7 separate regions of the Homo sapiens genome follow, and regions 1, 2, 3, 4, 6 and 7 are each linked to region 5. Evidence: promoter capture Hi-C in 16 types of primary human blood cells and fetal thymus (Javierre and others, 2016). All regions are on one chromosome and are shown on one strand. The core of a region is centred on a gene start or on the middle of the fragment in contact, and the rest is flanking DNA. Distances in the headings are between cores, read along the strand shown.

Region 1 (2,971 bases), core at 124-2,623, 1.3 Mb before region 5:
GCAATAAGAATTAGTAAAAATCAGGAATAAATGATACAGTAACATGTATCTGACGATAGGAAGACACACAGCACTTAGGCTACAAAGATATTTAAGTCTGCCTATGAGAATAAAGCACAGCACGGTTCTTTTCCTAAAAACTATATGGGCACTCAGCATGCATTTAGTAAAGCATTAACATATACTATGAAGTATGAACACATATGTAACAATATTAATACATCATTAAATACATTATTAGACATATTGATATACATATAATAACAATGAACATTAATCAAACACTGTTCTCAGCACTCTACAGGGACTGAAAGCTCCACCATATTTTCATGGTTGGCACTGTTATTACCTCCGTATTAGAAGTCAGGGAATTAAGCAAAGAGAGGTTAAATGAATTGCCTAGGGTCACACAGGGAGTTAGCAGTCTGTCCCTAAGCTTGCACCCCTGATCCTCATGCTGCCGTGCCTGTTTATGCTCAGGAGGGCAGTACAGGATTCTTTTTTACATGGTACTCTGGGAATGAGAGTTTAAATGGCATGTTTAATCAAGCTTAATATGGCAGAATTTCATACTAGATATATGAATTGCAAATATTAAATAATATTAAAAGGATAAAACTTTCAAAAGCAGATCTATTTATCATTTGTCTGCTTTTGCTATCACACACAAAAAACATCTGTCATCATTTCACTCCCAGAGTTCACCTAATTTAAATATTACACCTATTCCTCTCTTTTTAAGACGTTATTATTGCAATTAGGAAAACTTATAAAGAACACTTCTGTTAAAAGCCAGCCTTAGAAGAATTTATTAATTAGAAACAAAACAAATCAGAACTACCAATACGCAAACCAAAAGTAAAAATGAAGTTCTTCATTAAAATTGCTCTTTAAGGCTGGGCGCAGTGGCTCATGCCTGTAATCCCAGTACTTTGGGAGGCCAAGGTGGGCGGATCACCTGAGATCGGGAGTTCGAGACCAGCCTGGCCAACATGGCGAAACCCTGTCTCTACTAAAAATACAAAAATTAGCCAGGTGTGGTGGCAGGTGCCTGTAATCCTAGCTACTCAGGAGGCTGAGGCAGGAGAATTGCTTGGACCTGGGAAGTGGAAGAGGTTGCAGTGAGCCAAGATCCCACCTCCAGCCTGGGCGATAAGAGCCAAACTCCATCTCAAAAAATTAAAATAAAATAAAAATAAAAAATAAAAATAAAAAATTGCTGTTTAAAATGCAAAGCATACTCTGATAAACAAAATAGTTGTTTCTTCTTGTAATAAACTGAACTCGCAGAAACTAATTTAAAAAAGAAAAAAGGTCCCAAACTAATGGCAATTGCACTTTATGTTTAATAAATTCAGAGGCCAGATTAGAAATGGCATAATTAGAAACAGAGACAGGCAATGATTTCTTACATGGGCTGGCCAGACTGTTGGCTGTGAGTCATCAGATTTGATAGACTTTTCCACTTTAGCATATTTCTCCACCTAAACAATCAAATCAAGAAATACCACATAAAATAGAATCCATATCAGATAAAATGGAATCAGTATTCTGATCAAAGAGAAGAAACTAAGTAACTCGACAATACAATATACTTGTTAGCGCAAGAATTCTTAAATTACCGGTATCAACTACTTATGCTTAAGCAGTTTAAAAGTCTTCTGATGTGTATAAAACAACTTTAATAAAACCAAACCAAATAAATAAGTGTTAATAAACACAGCTGCTTTTCTAGACAGTGCCTCTTCATTTTTTTGTCCATAAGCTGATATGTTTTTCCTTTAGAGCTTTTCCTTCAGGAAAATTGGAATGTCAGAGAGATAAGGATAAAGATCTTTTCCTTTTGGCAGGCTTTTCTTGAAATAAAAGCGGTCATGTAACAGTGGGGACAAAACTGAGGGAGACTAGGGAAGGTAAAATATTAAAGCTGATCAAATTTTTTGAACGTTTTCCACTTTCTAGTCAGACTTGACCATATATTCTGTACATGTCCTAGGCATCTGTGTGAGTCAAATGTTATTATCTTACAGGCAACCACGATCTTAAGAGTAATTTAGACTTACCTGGAGCACCTATTAAAAATACAGATTTTCATGTCTGTCCCTTAGAAATCCTAAGTAAGTAGATTTTGAGTAGGGCTTGAAATCTCTATGTTTAACTGATATCCTAGGTGATTCTTCTGATTGAGCTAGACTGAGAAGCTTTGAGGGCAACTGCTACTCAATGTGTGGTCCATGGACCCCAGCATCACATAACCTAGGAGCTTGTGAGAAATGCATCTTAGCACCTCAGACTTGCTGAGTAGCAACCTACAATTTAACAAGCTCTCCAGCTGATTCGTAAGGACATTAAAGTTTGGGAAGTACTCCAGCTTGTCCTCCAAAGCTAAATTCCACCCTTCAGTATTTACACTGAAATTCTATTATCAGGCCATGTTCCTTGAAGAACTGCACATAAGCTACCAAAAGATAATATGGCTTACTTCCTTGAGCTGTATATACAGTCTACTGCTGCTTCTGGCTTTGTGCTTTGCGTAATTTCTTTTTTTTAAATCAGAAATAGTAAGAATAATGCATGTGCTAGCATGGAAAGGGTGCAACAGAAGAACAAATCTGAAAATAAAGAGTTGAGTGAATATAAAAAACAACAGAGGAGAAAGAAAAACATAGGATCACTCATCAAAATATCCCTTTTTTGTCTTCAACCATTTATAGTTCATGTATATTATGGATCAATAAAGAATACAACCCAATGTTCCTAATCTTGGTTACTTCTCTAGTATTATTAATCTTTATTTTATTTTATGTCAAATAATATTATTAATCTTCAAATTTAACCAGTTTGAGTAAACAAGCACTATTAGGAAATTTTGATGAAATATTATCAAAAAAAGAGAGATTTCACGTGATTATGTAATATACACTGTATTTTTCCAATTTTAAAATTGTTTTACTATTCCTGCTCCAAAAAA
Region 2 (2,986 bases), core at 92-2,591, 1.3 Mb before region 5:
GGAACTTTATATGTAAGGATAACTGACTTCCAAAATAAAGATTATCATTCTAAAAGACTTCTAAAGGCATCATAGTAAGCCCACAGTGATAAGATGCTGACAACACAGTCACTCATTCAATCCTCAAACTCCTATCATAGTTTTCTTATACATATGGCTTACTCTTTTAATTAAGTGTGAAGTTAGAATTATCGTCTTCAACTGACAGGAAGTTAGAATTATCGTCTTCAACTGACAGGAAGTTAGAATTATCGTCTTCAACTGACAGGATAATCATTAAGAGTAATCTTTAGTTCACCATTTACTGCTGGAAGTGTTGAGAAGTAATTTAATCTTTTTTTTTAAATGATAAAAGTGACTTACAGAAGTTATGCTATTGACCATTAAGACTTAAGTCATTTATGCAACTACAAGTTACCAGAACGAGACAAAAGATTATGCAATCTAGAAAAATTCAGTCTTAACCCAGGAAAACAAAAAAGTTATTAATTAAGATAACTATTGGCAAACACTGAAAACAGCTCTGGTAACCTAGTAAAGTGGATAATTATTTTGCCAGTAAACTGTAACAAGGAAACACAACTGTGGTAATTATGTTAAGTCAAAGCTCTTAATCCACTATCAATGAAAAAAAATCTCAGCCATCAATCAATTTAATAGTTTACACATTATAGCTTTACTTTTTCCTGTTTACTGGTTGCAAGGGAAGGAAAAGAAAATAATTTAAGCGGTGAGATCCCAAATAGATTAGATATGTTTAGTAAATTCAGCATATAAAGTTATGAAGATACCTACCAGCTGCCTGTGACTGCATAAAACTTCCTACTCCAGTAAGGTTAATAACAGCAGCTTGCTGAGCAGATAAGGCCTGTTCTTGACTGGTTGAACCTTGCTCAGAACCCTGAATAAAAAAATAATAAATGACTTGTACAAGAAAGAAAAACAAATTTGAGCTGGTGAAAAGAAATCAGTATTTTTTCCTATATGAAAGAAAGCAGTATTAGACTAGTCTTGTAAAAAGAATAACAAGGAAAATACTTCAAAGGTATTTAGAATAAGCAAGAATAAATTTATGGTATTTGAACAAAGAAAACTTCATTTTTCAGTGCATCTGTATTTATTGTTTAATGCTACCTAGATAACGCCTAAGGCTTTTATAAAGCTTCACTGAAACAATTTTTTAAAGCTTAAAACACCCTTTGTAACATAAACATAGTGCTGGAACTTTTAGTCAGCAGACTAAGTCAAGAAAAGGAAATAAAAGGTATATAGATTTTATAGGAAAAAATAAAATTGTCCTTATTTTCAAATGGCACAACTGTCTATATGGTAGAAAACCCTAAGCAATCTCCAAAACAGCTCCTAGAAGTAGTAAGTCCAGTAAGAGGGCACAAAACAAGACCAATATACAAAAATCAACACTATATATACTAGTAATGAACATGTGAAAACTGAAATAAAAAAAATACCATTCACAATTACTCAAAAAAAAAGAGAAAAGCTTAGGTATTAATCTTAAGTCTAAGAAAACATATACAGGGCTTGTATACCAAAAACTACAAAACATTGACTTTGGTCTAGATAAGGACATATACTATGTTCATGTACTGGAAGACTCACATCATAAAGATGGCAGTTCTTCCCCCAAACTGATCAACAAGTTTAACTCAATTCTTTTAGAAATGCTGGCAAGGTTTTTGTAGATATAGACAAGATGACTTTAAAATGTATATGGAAAGGTAGAGAACCTACATTAGCTACAACAATTTTGAAAAATGGTATGGGAGAAAACACTGCCCAATTTTAAGACACTACAATGAACAAGACAGTGTGGTATTGGCTGAAGGAGAGACACATAGATTAATGAAACAGAACAGGGAACCTAGAAATAGACCCACTCAAATAGACCCAACTGACTTTTAACAAATGTGCAGAAGTAATTCAATTCAGAAAGAATAGCTGTTTTTTTTCTTTGTTGTTGTTTTCTTTTTTTTCAACAAATGGTATTGAAACAATTGGATACTGATAGGAAAACAAAAACAAACAAAAACAAAACACGGACCTAAGTTGCACATCTTGTACAAAAATTAACTGAAAATGGATCATGGATTCAAAATAAGAAACTATAAAACTGTTAGAAAAAAAACACAGGAGAAAATCTTTGGGACCTAGAGCTAGGTAAAGAGTTCCGAGACATGAAAACTAGAGGATATTCCATAAAGAAAAGATACTGTTAACTTGGACTTCAGCAAAATTAAAAACTTTTGCTCTGCAAAAGACATCCTTTGGTACCACCTAAAATAGTGTCTGAAGTAACATTTCAGTATATAATTGCAAGCCAAACATTTCAAAAGTTACATTTATCTTGAGGGGATCTCCCTGGATATAAAAGATTGGACAAAAGAGCACAGAGCTGAAAGGAGGACACATTATTGAATTTGGAACCCAGTTCATGAAATGAACAACAGAATAAGGCAGACCACATCACCACCATAACGGAGCTATGATAAAACAAACAAAAAAACTCAAAATGCAAAAAAACTACAGGTGATATCAATTTCCCCCCAAAGCACTCCACAAACCTAATGTAGACTATAAGCCACCACCACAAATGGAATATTCAAACAAGGAGGAATAATGATTAAACAAACATCTTGAAGAAGAAAACAAATACTAAGAAATAAAAGGACTCAGGCTAAAACTAAAAGGATGAAAAAAGACGTACTAAGCTAACGTTAATCAAAAGAAAGAAACAAGAAATATTACCAGAGATAAAGAAGGTCATTTATTAATGATAAGGGGTAAATTAATCAAGGAAATAACAATCCTAAATGTATATGCACCTAACAATATGGGCTCAAAAAACAACCTTTAGCAAAAGGAAAAATAGAAATTTTCAGTTTTGGTTGAAGACTTCAACACTTCTCTCAGTAACTGATAAAACATACAGAAAGAAAAGGATATAGAAGACCTGAATGATGCCATC
Region 3 (2,840 bases), core at 54-2,553, 1.3 Mb after region 5:
AACTTGAATTTGTTTCATGGGGTATCAGCTTATTTGAATTTTACATACTATAGAATACAATATGGAAAGAGAAACCAAAGTGTCTCTGTATCTAGACTACCTCTTACTTATATAGAGGTTCAGTGACTTTTCCCCTGTCGTCTCATTAACTCCCTTAGAATTGTAAGTAACTAAAACTCCTGTATGAATACTTCCCTACAGAGACTGAAGTCATATCAGTACTGAGAAATATGGTTATGCAGAGATGAAAAAAGAATATTTAATATCAAGGTAATCTGTTAATAGGATTTAGGAGGAGAGGGCCCAGGTCTTTGATCCTGTAATTGATGCCAAACAAGAGCTATGTGGTAATGTTTTGGATAAGAATTTAATGCATTTTGTATTTGTTGATATGTTTTTTATTATTTTATATTTTAATTTTATTCTTTTAATTTTTATAAAATAAAAGGTAAATACTTTCTTTAATGCCTGGAGTAGTATTAGCATAAGCTTTAGGTAGATGTAGGGGTTGATGATATTAATAATTCTGAAAACAGGAAACGAGGGGACTCTTACCAAGGTAGTGCATCCTGCTTTGAATCATCCCTTTCAGAATCTGTTTATACTATTTTTAGAGGACCTCCCCATTACTTTCTGATTGGAACACTACTTATCCTATCATCAGGTCACAGAACACAAATGCTGAACAGCTGTGTAAAATAATAACACCCCAGTGTTACTTACTGAGTACTATGTGTTAAGCACCATTTTAAATTCTAGAAACACAACGTCAGTAAAGCACTGCCCTCAAACTGCTTTATTTTATGGAACCAGAGATAAACAAACGCATTTTAATTGAATACACTAATTGATAGTCTAGAAGTCATGTGCCAGATGCTGTGTGGCTCAAGTATTCTGGTGTAGGGGAAAGAGATGAGCATCAGTGAAAGTTTCCTAAGGAATTAGGTATAAAGTGAGTTCTGAAGGCTGAATAGGCATTTTCCTAGAAGTAAAGGAAGAACAGTTTGCAGGTTGAGGGAACAGTAATGCAAAGATATACATTGAGAGATAATGCACCTTTGGGAAATTAATTGTAAAAGCTTGCACTGGCTATTGAATTAGGAGCAACAGCTGGATCATAATAGCCCTGAATGTTGTGCATATACATAAGATAAGTTAATGTTTACCATTGATCAGCAGCTTAACAGTTTATTCCTGCTTTAAAATTTCTTTCCCAACTTTTTCACTTTAACATATTGACATTAATTATGAGTCTTTTAGCACTTAAAACATTTGGCGTTTGATTTTAACAGCTGTTGCATTGTCTACAGATTAATATTTATTCACAAGGTTAATCTTTTATGTATTAAAAAAAAAAAGCCTTTCTGTGTTTTGGGCACCTTTGTTTGTTTTCAACAGCTGACTTCTGCCATGCAAATAAATTTTCACTGAGTTATAGTTCTTTATCAAAACTTGGAAAGGAGCAATATTAAATGGCTATAAGGTGGGTTCTTGAGTCAAATTTCTTTGAGAAGTCCGTGTACCTTTATAAGCTTGTTTCCTTAGCTGTAAAATGAGGATAATAATAGTGCCTATTTTACAGGGTTGATGTGAAGATTAAGTTAGATTGTTCACTTAAGGCACTTAGTGTAATGCTTGGTACATCACTAAATTTTAGATATTATTTTTATTTTGAGAGGAGATGACTAGAAAGTTTTCAACTAAGGAGGGATGTATCTGAGGGCTACATGGCAATCTGGGAAAAAGCTTGAAAGATAAAGAATGGAACTATAATAGGCAAAGAAGGTTTATCTGTGAAGGGCATATGCTAAGAAGCAGGGGGCAGTAATGGCAATTTGGAAGATTTTTTTTTTTTTTTTTTTTTTTTTGAGACGGAGTCTAGCTGTCGCCCAGGCTGGAGTGCAGTGACGCAATCTCGGCTCACTGCAGGCTCCGCCCCCTGGGGTTCACGCCATTCTCCTGCCTCAGCCTCCCGAGTAGCTGGGACTACAGGCGCCCGCCACCTCGCCCGGCTAATTTTTTGTATTTTTTAGTAGAGACGGGGTTTCACCGTGTTAGCCAGGATGGTCTCGATCTCCTGACCTCGTGATCCACCCGCCTCGGCCTCCCAAAGTGCTGGGATTACAGGCGTGAGCCACCGCGCCTGGCCAATTTGGAAGATTTTAAGACACATTTAGAAGTTGAGTAGGAAAGTAAGTTTTTAAGACCAGATGATTAGAACAAGATGAATGCTAAAAAAGAGAAAATTGGCCTTTCATTAAGTAATTATTTTCAAAGTGGTAGTTTCCTTACATTTAGGGAAAACTTAATAATGTATCATGTTAACCACCAGATGGCACTATATGAACTTAATAAGTAATGTATAAAAGTTTCACTGTCCATTATTGTGTCTCAAATAATGTAAGTATTATATACAAGAAAAATGTCAATTATTGAAATCCGTGGGGAAAGTTGCCATACTCAGTGTTTCTTATGTGGTGTATAACTGGAATGCTAATGCATTATTGACTTTTAATAATAAATCATGTACAATTATAAATGAAGTGAAAAAATTTGATAATTTATTTTCTTTGGTAAGCCTTTAGAATATAAGTTATTTTAAAATGTAGTAATACATACAATGCTGATTTTTCTTCCTTCTTTATGTATTTGTTGTGTTTCAAAGAGGCACTTCTTTACTATTATCTTTTAATTTGCTTTTTGATAAAAATTTTTCTTCTTTTAATTTGCTTTTTGACCAGAATTTCTTTAACTGTAGCTAAACACAATTTTTAAAATGAGACTTTTAATTTTAACTTGAGGTATTTGAGAATATTTACATAATTTGAACATTCACTCTG
Region 4 (2,980 bases), core at 4-2,503, 1.4 Mb before region 5:
GCTACCCTAAGGAAGATCTGAAGGAGAAGGTGAGAAGGGGCGTGGTTAGAAAAGAAAAGAGTCCGCATGTGGAGACACAGGTGGGGCCAGACTAAAGACCATGGGAAGCCCATGAAGGAATATAAGCAGAAGAGGTGCATATGATTGATCACACTTAAGTTTGCAAAGACCTTGTGGGCTACAGCATGGTAGTATGGAGAAGGATGGTGTTCTGGATGGCGGTGGTAGAGATGGAGAGAAATGGAGGAACACAAAAGCTAAAATCAACAGGCCCTGTCATGGATTGGATATATGCATGTGGAGAATGTCAGGGCTGATGTCAGGGTTTCAGCTTCTGTACAACAGTGCTAGCCACCTGTATCTCCAGTATATTTCAAAAGAGAGCTCAGGAGTATCAAATGCTGCTGATGGGTTAAGTGTGACAAGTGGTCATTTAACATGACCACTGGCTTCAATGACATAGAGGTGGCTAGATGTTAAGATGAAGTAGACTGGGTGCAGTGGCTCACGTCTGTAATCGCAGCACTTTGGGTGGATCACCTGAGGTCAGGAGTTCAAGACCAGCCTGGCCAACATGGTGAAACCTCATCTCTACTAAAAATACAAAAACTAGCTGGGTGTGGTAGCGCCCACCTGTAATCCCAGCTACTTGGGAGGCTGAGGCAGGAGAATCACTTGAACGCGGGAGGCGGAGGTTGCAGTGAGCTGAAATCCTGCCATTGTACTCCATCCTGGGCAACAAGAGCGAAACTCAAAAAAAAAAAAAAATGATGAGGCATGGAAGAAAATCCATATGAAGAAGGTGGGGTGAGGAGTGAGTGGGAAGCAAGAAAACAAAGCCAGTGAATATAAAACACTTTTTCAAGAGAAGGTTGCTTGTGAAGGAGACAGGGCTAGAGCTGGAAGGGCACAGCAGGGTCAATGGAAAGGGTTCTGGGAAAGATGTGATGGAAGGGAAAAGGCTGAATACACAAGAGATGAAATACATGGACAGGATTAGGTTTTGACAAGGTGGAAGGAGATGTAGAGGTCAAAAGATCGGTCTTAGGAAAGACACCTTATCTTCCGTAGAAGGAAGAAAAGAGAAAATGGGTGCCCTATTCTGTTTTGATGTTTCTGAGCTTTTTCTTTTTTCTTCAAAGGAAAAAAAATGTTTTCAGGCCACTCAATTTCTACTGTCTACAATTAAGGTGAACACACATAACTTTATACCATATTGTTGGGTTTGTGTATTTTCAAAATAAGATCCAACTCAGGAAAAGTATAAAGGCAAGATCAAGTTTACATACATTATTGTCAATTTTGTTTAAATCTACATGTTCATTATAAATATACAGGGCTGTTTCTCATTACCTAGAAGATGGCTGGGTCATAAGACAGACTGGATACATTCCAGTCAGAAACCTACCATCGTTCAACGTGTAGAGATGAAAACGTCCGTGAAGCTGCTTCTCGAGTAAATAATTTGAACCCACACTGTGTGTCCCTGATTCCTTTGACACAAAGGAACCACACCAGAAAGTGGAACCCATACATGAGAAGAGTACGGAAGTAAGAACGCTGAAAACAAAGACAAAATATAAATGACTTTTCCATTCATCTGTAAAGGAGACACTGAAAACACCTGGCTGTAGACAACTGTATTTTAATATTTAATTGACTGGTAGATCTTACATAAGAACACCACTGTTCCATGAGCTTCACCAACAAAGTATATTAAAGAAACAGCAAGAATGCCTACTGCTTGGAGCAGAGTAGAGGCACTAGGAAGCAGTTACTCATTTCCTGGAGGTTGAGTCAGACAAGCGGCCAGGGCTTTAGCCTACCAGGAGAAACAGGTTTGGGGCTGCTGCTGTGAGCAAGGAGAACGTCTTGTTTACTTACATATTTTATGCTGCTTTGCCCCACATGTATTTCAGTTTCAAAAAAGCTGTCAGTTTCCAGGATGTATTGACAAAACAAAGCACAGATATAAGCCTGCAGTTGATACTTAACTAATGAGAATATTGACAGAAGATGTATAGCAGAGTATCATGAAGGTTATGGACTAGAAAGGAGTTTGAAACAAACACCTGGTCTTTCTAAGCATGCCAGAGATCTAATTAAATACATTTAAAATATTGAGTTCTTTAATACTTTGGATATTAAGATTAAGTAGGTTTTAATCCCATCTGAAGTTTCACTACTGTTACTGATGATTAATTTTATTAGTAGTAACAGAATATTCCATTATTCATAAAACATAGCACATTTTAAAACATAAGAACATAAGATTATTATCACTGGATTCCAGACTTTCACATTTAAGATTTAGTAAAAGATAGGATCTTTCTAAAAAATAAAATAACAAAATTTTTTTTAGAGACAGAGACGCCTTCTGTTGTCCAGGCTAGAGTCCAGTGGTGTGGTCATGGTTCACTGCAGCCTCAAATTCCTGGGATCAAGTGATCCTTCTGCCTCAACCTACAGAGCAGCTGGGATCACAGGCGTGTGCCACTATACCCAGCTTCTTTAAGACACGATCTTTTAAAATGTTCCTTAGTTAAGGCAATAGACTCAAGTAATGATGCGTTACTTACATACATAAGCAACCTATTAAGAGTCTATTAGAACATTTAATATCTCATACTATGGGATAAAGGTCCCTTCCTCCTTTTGGCTTTTGCTTTTCAAAATTATAATTTTTAGTATCGTTCTTCCTTTGCATGGCTTTTTCCATCAACACCAAACAGAACCACAGTGGAACAGAGTAACAAAGAAAAAGCACCAAATCAGGCGAGGTGCGGTGGCTCACACCTGTAATCCCAGCACTCTGGGAGGCCGAGGCAGGTGGATTGCTTGAGGTCAGGGGTTCAAGACCAGCCTGCCCAACATGGCGAAACCCCATCTCTACTAAAAATACAAAAATTAGCCAGGCATGGTGGCACACGCCTGTAGTCCCAGCTACTTAGGAGGCTGAGGCAGAAGAATCGCTTGAACT
Region 5 (3,109 bases), core at 207-2,706:
TATTATTTGGCTAGCTGACAATAGGTAGACACAATCACAGTTTTATCCTTATTACTATTCTCACAAGTTTTAGTCACACCCACTAATTGAATAGTTTCAGCTATTAAGGCTGTAACTGTTGATCCCTGTATCTGTCAATCAATATTTGGCTTCATCTACATATATGGTAAGACCATTATTTTAAAAAGTGAGGATGGCTGTCATGAGAATGTTGGAGTCTTACTTGCCTACTCAGAACCAGAACTCTCTCCACTGGGAAATGTCACCATAGAAGATCAGTTGGCTGCAAAATTATTGTAAAGATGAATTTGATCTCCATTATCCCTACTACAGTTCCTTCCTGGTTCCTCTCTTAAGTATCTCTCCTTAAGAATCTGATGCATATTCTAAAGATCAACTAGATTGCCCCATTATTTTAATGCCTACCTGCTTCCTCCTTTGTCTATTCATGCTAATGTTTTAAAAGGGCATTTCAGTCATTGTGAGACAGACGCATATTTTCCAAACACAGAGGTTTAGATCTGTAATAAAGTTTAGAGGACAATTTTCTTCCGTCATCACTACACAGGATGTTAGATCCTAGAGAGTTGACGCCTACCTGCCTTACTCATCTTGGATTCCCCAGAGTTTAGCTTAGCGCCGGGCAAATAGAAAGGGTTCAAAGTTGGTTGTTAAATTGAATAAATGTGGTCAGTGATTAGCAACTCAGCGCACTGGTTTAATTAGACCATATAACAAATTACTGAAATCTCCTGTTCATAGATGTGTCTTCCCAACTAGACGCCACGTTCCCCAAACGTAGAAACCTCATTTTTTCTCACCCACCCCAGCGGGAGTCTTGGCATAGATAATTCGTACTTGATAGCTCTCTTACTTAACCGAAATTCAATAGTTATAAATCAGTATCGGAAAGTAAAGCGTGAAGGAGAAACTATGAGAAATGTAAAGGATATAACAGGATTGGTTTGCTGGAAAGACGGAAGAAAACTAATGATAAAGCAGTGTTACAATTCCTGCTTCTGGAGCACCAATTAAGCTTTTCCGCGCTCAGGTTGCCTTAGAAACTTTAGAGCGCGTCCGCCCCAGCCCCGCCCCCGGCCTCGCCCCGAGCTTCGCCCCAAGTCCATCTCGCTCTTCATCCGACTACCCCATACCCTTACTTCCGCCCCAACCTGCCAACTGGAACCTAGGGTCCTACGCTCTATGCCCACGCTTATTCTGCCTGACTAAAAATATGGTAGCAAATTACCAAAGTTAGAAAGATATCTTATAAATATAATCCATACTTTTTTCTTAGATATATAAACGCAAAAGCACAAGATATTTGTAATTTAAAAGCGCCATCTAGCATGAGCTCTTAGGGCCAATTTTCAGGCAGTGCGTTGGATAGCAACAACTTCGGAGGTCCCCAGATTGCAGAGGGAGACGTGGACGTGAGTGGAGCGGGGCGGTCCCCAGCACACTAGAGGAAGTCGTGCTACCCCCGCGGAGTTGTCGTGTGTTCTGGATTCATTCCGGCACCACCATGTAAGTGTTTGCTTACCGACTGCCATAATTCCTGGTCCAGCTGCCCGACCCTGACTCTCTCCCGCTCTTTTCCTCAGGTCGAAGGTTTCCTTTAAGATCACGCTGACGTCGGACCCACGGCTGCCGTACAAAGTGTGAGTAGCTCGGCCGAGATGGGCCTTTTGGGGCCGGACAAGACGGGGCTGGGTTGGGGATGATCCGAGCTTTTCCAACAACTACCCCACGCAGTCTTCATCTCTTCACTTCATCTACTTTCCTGGCTCGCGCCCTTCCAGGAGCCTTTCCCACCGGAGCCTGCGAGGAGAGGTCCGTACTTGCTCGCTAAGTGTCAGCTTGGCAGCTTGGCCCCGTCACGAGGGTGTGGGTGTGTTTCTGATTAGTGACCTCCCCTCGGAATTCATTTGGTGGGCAGGTGGCGCGGGAGGACAGGTGGACCAGGTTCTGGTAATTTGTTGGGATTCTTAAACAGTCCCCATCTGCTGGATATTAGAAAAGCGTTTCACCGCTTTGGCCAGCTGGTTGAGGAAGTTAAGGAAGACATTCCATCTTGATAGTCAAGACTTTGAAATTACTTGAACATTTGTTATTCCGCGGCTTCTGAGTTTCGTTGTGTATGAGTAACTCAGCAGTCGGGCATCACAAAGTAATGAGACTCAGATCACACCCTTCCTATGCTGGGATTTAATAGAGTATTTGGTAGGAATGGGAAATGCAGATAGGGGATAGTTTATCCATGTGGGGCCTTTACTTATCCTTCGCAGTTGAGTGATAGATTTTAAGTAAACACTCTTGAGGTTATTGCAGTTGGAAGTAGCATGAAATGTAGCAAAGAACAGGATTACAATAGAATTTTTTGCATAATTAATTAGTACCTTGGCCTACCTAGCTGACTGATAAATTTCAATGATTTACCAATCCATGATCCGTACAACCTCTCAGCCTTTTCCTCCCTTGATCTTTTCATCTCCAAAATATCCCTGTTACACTTTATCTCAGGTGTTCATGGTTGCAGCCTAGAACCTTAAGATTCCAATAATTGCTCCATCTCTGAGATGTCGTTTACAGGCACTCTTATGGATAAATACATTCTCTCCTACATGATTTACTATAATTTCTCATCTACAACGTTTCATTTAATCCATTAATCACAGTGATTTTTTATCTGTAGCTATCCCCACTTCTATTCCTTACCTTACTCCTTATATAGTTAAGAGTCCATTGGTCCACCTTTAAATCATTCTCATGCAAACACCCTCAACTCTGGTGGCCCTGTCTCTCCTCTCAGCATATTTTGGTTAGTGAAACACCAACTCTGAAACCAGCTGTTTGTATTATCTGTACATAGCTGACTGCCCCTGGAGAAAATAACAGACTGGAGGGTTTACATTAAATTCATGACTACAATTAATAGTACCTAGTACTTAATACATTCTTCAAGTTTGCTCATTTTCCTCCTTATTCTCAGAAAAGATTGTTTAAAAATTTCAAACTTTCCACAGCTGCTGTCTCCCTTGCTATCAAGCCATCAGAGGGAAATTCTATCATCTTTACACCAATGTAAACCTACCACTACATGGATAAA
Region 6 (2,762 bases), core at 30-2,529, 1.5 Mb before region 5:
CAAAATATATACTTCCCTGCTGGAGATACACCAAGAAAGTATAATCTAAAAACAATATGACAAAATCTGCCAATTTTCTAGCACTTTATAGTTTTCAAAACAATTATGCATATTTGCTTGCTCTCCACAACAATCCCGTAATGCATGCACAATTATTAGTTTATAAACACAGAAGCAGACTTTTCAAGGTTAAATTACTTGCTCAAGACTGCACAGCTATTGGACTTAAATCCAGGCCCTCTGATTCCAAATGACTTACTGCACAATGTTGGAAGCTTTCGTCACGGGCCAGTGCAATCTGGACACGCCCCTTGCATTTCGGCAGTGGATGCACCATCATGGGGCCATAAGAATAAAGCCTTTGCACAAATTAAGCCTTGATTTTTGGAATGTGTTAAAAGACAGATTTTATGTTAACCTTAATTATATTATTTTAGGAAGTATTTTCATTTGTGCTAATTTATTTGAACCTCAAAACATTGCAGGGCAAGTAGTATTGTCCTTGTTTTGACATGAGGAAAGCAACTCAGAGAAGTTAAAGTGACGTATAAACAGGTCATATTGTTAGAGCCAGAGCCAAGATTTGAACCTAAAATTGTCTCCAGAAATGATGCTTTTTCCAGATTAGTATGTTGTCGCTAAAGTAAAAACTAACACTTTCAAGTGCTTAGTTTATTTTTTCTTGAGATGGAGTTTCACTGTCGCCCAGGCTGGAGTGCAGTGGCACGATCTCAGCTCACTGCAACCTCTGCCTCCCGGGTTCAAGCGATTCTCCTGCCTCCACCTCCCGCGTAGCTGGAATTACAGGCATGCACCACCACGCCTGGCTAATTTTGTATTTTTAGCCAAGACAGAGTTTCACCATGTTGGCCAGGCTGGTCTTGAACTCCTGACCTCAAATGATCTGACTACTTTGGCCTCCTAAGGTGCTGGGATTACAGGTGTGAGCCACTGCGCCCGACTGCAAGTGCCTATTCTAACACAGTAGGCCCTTCAATAAATGCTAAGTAATTAAATTTTTTTAAATGAAACTTTCTGTATGCATACACATACAATTTTATATAAATACATTAATAATCGTATTGTATATACTGAGAGGTTTTTGTTTAACTTTTTACCCCCTTCTGTTCCTTTTTAAAATTTTCTTACCCTCTGTCTTCCATGCACCACCCGACTTCCAGGTAACCTTTGTCAACTACCCAGTATGTAGTCTGTTTTTTTCATGTTTGTATAATTATATATGAACACATATATACATTTAGAATTGTCATTGTTACATAAAAGTGTGGGCATATTATACACGCTGTCAGTATATTGCTTTTTTATGCAGTACTGTGTAGAAGTCCCTCTGAGTCACTTGTATAGCTCTAAGTCATTCCTTTAGATGACTGCAGAGTATCTCATGATATGAATGCATCATCATTTATTCAACTATTCCATTGTTGATAGGCATTCACTTGGTGTCATTTTCTACCACTATGAACAGTGCTGCAGCAGACATCCTTGTAATGTGTCCTTATATAGCGGTATATATTGGTGGTTTTATGGCCTCGGGATTGACTTCCAGAAGTGGGATTGCTGAGTATAGGGCTACATGTTTCCTTTAAATAGATGTTGTTATATTCCTTTCCCCAGGAAATCTGTAACACTTAACATGTTTACCAGCAAATGAAAAAGAATTAATTTCCCTCCCATCTTTGCCAGTATTATTACGTTTATTAGCGTTTCCTGGAATACTGGTAAATTAAAGCATCTTTTCTTTTCTTGTTCTTTTTTTTTTTTTGAGATGGGGTCTCACTCTGTTGCCCAGGCTACAGCGCAGTAGTGCAGTCTCAGCTCGCTGCAACCTCAACCTCCTGGGCTCGAGAGATTCTCCTACCTCAGCCTCCTGAGTACCTGGGACCACAGGTGCATACCACCACTCCTGGGTAATTTTTATATTTTGTGTAGAGATGAGTTTTTGCCATGTTGCCCAGGTTGGTCCCAAACTCCTGGGCTCAAGCAATTTGCCCAACTCAGCTTCCCAAAATGCTGGTACTACAGGTGTGAGCCACTGTGCCCAGCCTAAAGTATCTTTTCATATGCTTGCTGTTTATTTTGATTTGCTGTTCTGTGAATTGCTTAGTCATATCTTTTGCTTATTTTCTGTTAGGCTTCCTTTTTCTAGCTCAGGGTGTAAAAAGTCTGATTAATATCATGAAATTTAACCCTTTGTCACTTCTATCCTGTTTTTTTCCAAATCTAAAATGTGTTTGTTTACTTTTTTATGGTATCGTTTGCCATAGAAGCTTTTACTTCATGTGTATTTCAATATGTCTGACATTTCTTTTATGGCTTCTTGGTTTCTAGTCTTGGTTTAAAAAGTCTCAAGTTGGAATCTTTCAAACGATTACTGATTTATAATGTCCCATTTCTTTTTCTAGAATTAGAAAATATAATTAATATGAATATTGTCAAATAGCTCTAATTGCTTTTGTGTAACTCATTGAAATGGAAATTTTAGAATTTTTTGAAAATCATTATTACACCCTCAGTTTCTAACTGTCTTTAGTTTCTCACTTCCTTAGCTAGAAAAATGAATATTATACTCATGACCACAGATACTGTTGAAGGTACATAGATTAGGACCTGTGTGCAGATAGCAGTTTATTTGAAAATGGGCTGAACTACCGTTTATCTAGCAGACTTGCCTCACTATAGAAAAAAAAAAATCTGATTTAAATACTGCTTTTATTGAGTTTGAAGTTAACAGTTGTTTTTAA
Region 7 (3,191 bases), core at 397-2,896, 1.4 Mb before region 5:
GGCTGGGTGACAGAATGAGACCTTGTCTCAAAAAATAATAATAAAAAATAAATAAAATAATTTAAAACCTAAGTCACAGCCTGAGAAATGACTCTATGATCATGAAATACACACTTTTTAGCATTTATTTTGCCTGTTAGGGATTTTTGATTCTATTTAGAAAAGTTAAGCAACTGAACAAGTGATCATCATATACTTTGGGATTATTTTTTGAAAAAATTTTTTATTATTTTTTGAGACAGAGTCTCTCTCTGTTGACCAAGGTGGAGTGCAGTGGCGCAGTCCCGACTCACTGCAACCTCTGCCTCCCAGGTTCTAGTGATTCTCATGCCTCAGCTTCCCGAGTAGCTGGGCTTACAGGTGTGCGCTACGACACCTGGCTAATTTTTAGTAGAGACGGGATTTCGCTATGTTGGCCAGGCTGGTCTCATACTCCTGGCCTCAAACGATCCTCCCACCATGGCCTCTCAAAGCGCTGGGATTACAGATGTGAGCCACTGTGCCTGGCCAGCATATACTTTGCTTAGAAAAATTACTAAAAAACAAGCATATTTTTAAAAAGAGGTAGACTAACTACCAGTTAGGAAACTGAAAATCTGAGAGGAAAGCTTTGCATATTAAAAAACAAAGATGTGGGAAAAGAAAATACAAGTAAAATATAAATGAAAGTTTTGGCTGAGCGTGGTGGCCCATGCTCCTAATCCCCACAATTTGGGAGGCCGAGGCAGGCAGATCACTTGAGGCCAGGAGTTTGAGACCAGCCTGGCCAACACAGTGAAACCCCATCTCTACCAAAAAACACAAAAAATAGCCTGGCGTGGTGGTGCGTGCCTGTAATTCCAGCTACTCGGGAGGCTGAGGCACGAGAATCGCTTAAGCCCAAGAGGCAGAGGTTGCAGTGAGCTGAGATTGAGCCACTGCACTCCAACCCAGGTGACACAGGGAGACCCTGTCTCAAAAATAAAATAAAATAAAATAAAATTTTTAGTATGAAAATGTAAATGCCCTATTTTATTTGTATGTATTATACAAAGCTCTACTTAAATTATATACATGTAGTTTAAAACCTTACAGGAGCACTTATTATCAGAAAAGAAATTGTAGGCAACTTTTGTAAGATGACTTTGTATAAGAATCATCAGAACCAGAACATGTAACCTGGTTACTCTAAGAGGAAATACAAGCAAGTAGTAATAAATTTCTTTTTGTAGTCATTAAAAAAAAATCAGCTAAGAAAGAAGACATTAGAAACCACTGTAAAACGTACTAAAGAAATGACTTAAATGGTCAAAGCAATATTGTAAAAGATATTTAAGCTAATGACTGCCATCTAGTGAGACAGTCACGTAATTATAGGACTTGACTACAAAACCCACGTTCCTGTTTCATTATTTTCTGAACTATTTCAGTCGCTATTTTTATTAGGGCTTAGGGAAATACATGCAAGGCATGCTTATCAAATTTGTGGCTTAAATGAATTGAGAAAACAGCTATTGCCCTAAGATAGAACAAGAACCTACACTTTTAGACACAGAAATCTAACAAGTTGAAGTTGAGATAACTAGCCACAATTCCATTCCTGAAAACAAAGCAAAAGAACACAGAAAGAAATCCACACCAGTATAGAGATGGAGAGACAAAGTTCAAAGGCAATGAACAGGAAAAAGAGTTGGCAATACCTGTACGAAGTAACAATGTAATGTGGAAACCAAATCCACACGAACAGACACATCTTCAGTGGAAAATTATAAGAAAAAAATATGCTATGTTTAAAAACTGTAAGAACTGGGCCAGGCGCAGTGGTTCATGCCTGTAATCCCAGCACTTTTGGGAGGCCGTGGCTGGTGGATCACGAAGTCAGGAGATAGAGACCATCCTGGCTAACACGGTGAAACCCTGTCTCTACTAAAAATACAAAAAAAAATTAGCCGGGCATGGTGGCAGGCGCCTGTAGTCCCAGCTACTGGGGAGGCTGAGGCAGGAGAATGGTGTGAACCCGGGAGGCGGAGCTTGCAGTAAGCTGAGATTGCGCCACTGCACTCCAGCCTGGATGACAAAGCGAGACTCTGTCTCAAAAACAAACAAACAAACAAACAACAACAACAAAAACCGTAAGAACTGACAGCCTAAAACAGAGAATACACATGGAAAACAGCTTTGACTCTCTGAAGGGCTGTCACAAAGAAGTGGAGTAGATAATTTTGTGTAGCTACAGAAGACAGAAACAATGGAAGGGGGTGATTAAAAGGAGACATATTTGCATTTGGTGTCTAGAGGAACTTCACAGCTGAGCTGAGACAGAATGAGCTGCTTAAGCATCACTAGAGCTATGCAGTAGAGGCTGAAAGATCACTAGGTAGTTGTAAAAACTTTCCAATATTGGATAAATGATTAAATTAGATTTAAGAGTCAGCAAACTATAGCCTGTAGCCCAAATCTGATCTGCTGCTTATTTGTGTAAATAAAGGATGTATTTTATCTATGTCTACTTTCATGCTACAATAGAGCGTTGAGCAGCTGCCACAGAGGCTGACTGGCTTTAAAGCTGAAATATTTACTATATGGTCCTTTACAGAAAAAGTTCTCTAACACCTGAATTACATAAGTAAGAAGATTTCTTCTAATTTCTCTATGCATGTCAACTTCAGAATGTAAGTTTTCTGAGAGCAATGACTGGCTGTTTATAAGCTTTGTCAGAACCATATTTTTCACTGGGTGGATCCAAAAACTATGAATTTTGTAACTTTAACCACCTATCATTTATTTGCCTCCTTTCCACCTCCTGCAAAGAGTATTACATGATGCATATTAATAAAACTTACTAAATTTAATTCAAATTAATTCAATTGAGCTGGGACACTTAAATAATTAGGGATACTTTAAGGTGCTGTAAAACCAAGGCTACGAATTAATAGCTTAATGATAATCACATGCTTTAATTCTTTAAAACTTAACATTTCTAGTAACAGTGTAGTAAATGGGATTATGATAAGGAAAAAATATGGCATCAGAACTCCTTTTCTTTACAGAGTAGTATAAAGGAACTAGATTTATAAGAATAAAGTTCAGATTTTTGTTTTATTGTTTGGTTCACTCCCTAACATCAGCAAAATCATTTAAATTATCTTTGCCCTACTGCTGAATGACAAAATCAGCTGCTAAAAATCTGATGCCTTATGCCCTCCCTCCCA

Evidence for each region. Contacts are between HindIII fragments. The CHiCAGO score rates a contact against its expected background, and 5 or more counts as called.
Region 1: a fragment that was not itself captured here is called in contact with the fragment with the promoter of UFM1 in region 5 in 10 of 17 cell types (activated CD4 T cells, total B cells, total CD4 T cells and 7 more); the score reaches 12.5 in activated CD4 T cells.
Region 2: a fragment that was not itself captured here is called in contact with the fragment with the promoter of UFM1 in region 5 in 8 of 17 cell types (naive CD4 T cells, total B cells, total CD8 T cells and 5 more); the score reaches 13.0 in naive CD4 T cells.
Region 3: a contact is called between a fragment that was not itself captured here and the fragment with the promoter of UFM1 in region 5, in 1 of 17 cell types (total CD8 T cells). The highest score is 5.3, in total CD8 T cells.
Region 4: a contact is called between a fragment that was not itself captured here and the fragment with the promoter of UFM1 in region 5, in 1 of 17 cell types (naive CD8 T cells). The highest score is 6.4, in naive CD8 T cells.
Region 6: a fragment that was not itself captured here is called in contact with the fragment with the promoter of UFM1 in region 5 in 2 of 17 cell types (non-activated CD4 T cells and fetal thymus); the score reaches 9.9 in non-activated CD4 T cells.
Region 7: a contact is called between a fragment that was not itself captured here and the fragment with the promoter of UFM1 in region 5, in 4 of 17 cell types (naive CD4 T cells, total B cells, naive CD8 T cells and 1 more). The highest score is 8.3, in naive CD4 T cells.

Annotation. Positions count from the first base shown.
Region 1 is chr13:37,028,353-37,031,323 of GRCh38, forward strand. SUPT20H (SPT20 homolog, SAGA complex component) reads right to left here. Exons shown (of 26, transcript NM_001014286.3): 13 at 1,413-1,484. Among named protein-coding and RNA genes, the nearest start is that of EXOSC8, 29 kb to the left of the region's middle. The HindIII fragment of the contact is 1,651 bases long and covers 549-2,199 here.
Region 2 is chr13:37,011,397-37,014,382 of GRCh38, forward strand. It overlaps SUPT20H (SPT20 homolog, SAGA complex component), which reads right to left. Exons shown (of 26, transcript NM_001014286.3): 24 at 796-901. Among named protein-coding and RNA genes, the nearest start is that of EXOSC8, 12 kb to the left of the region's middle. The HindIII fragment of the contact is 315 bases long and covers 1,185-1,499 here.
Region 3 is chr13:39,682,401-39,685,240 of GRCh38, forward strand. All of the region lies in intron 8 of COG6 (component of oligomeric golgi complex 6), which reads left to right. Among named protein-coding and RNA genes, the nearest start is that of MIR4305, 20 kb to the left of the region's middle. The HindIII fragment of the contact is 453 bases long and covers 1,078-1,530 here.
Region 4 is chr13:36,964,167-36,967,146 of GRCh38, forward strand. It overlaps ALG5 (ALG5 dolichyl-phosphate beta-glucosyltransferase), which reads right to left. Exons shown (of 10, transcript NM_013338.5): 8 at 1,409-1,560. Among named protein-coding and RNA genes, the nearest start is that of ALG5, 34 kb to the right of the region's middle. The HindIII fragment of the contact is 4,137 bases long and covers 1-2,980 here.
Region 5 is chr13:38,348,395-38,351,503 of GRCh38, forward strand. It overlaps UFM1 (ubiquitin fold modifier 1), which reads left to right and starts at 1,457. Exons shown (of 6, transcript NM_016617.4): 1 at 1,457-1,527; 2 at 1,605-1,661. The coding sequence starts at 1,526. RefSeq lists silencers at 987-1,096, 1,794-2,008 and an enhancer at 1,207-1,416. The HindIII fragment of the contact is 2,541 bases long and covers 1,035-3,109 here.
Region 6 is chr13:36,833,097-36,835,858 of GRCh38, forward strand. No RefSeq gene overlaps it. Among named protein-coding and RNA genes, the nearest start is that of RFXAP, 15 kb to the left of the region's middle. The HindIII fragment of the contact is 2,013 bases long and covers 274-2,286 here.
Region 7 is chr13:36,980,018-36,983,208 of GRCh38, forward strand. All of the region lies in intron 6 of ALG5 (ALG5 dolichyl-phosphate beta-glucosyltransferase), which reads right to left. Among named protein-coding and RNA genes, the nearest start is that of ALG5, 18 kb to the right of the region's middle. The HindIII fragment of the contact is 2,080 bases long and covers 607-2,686 here.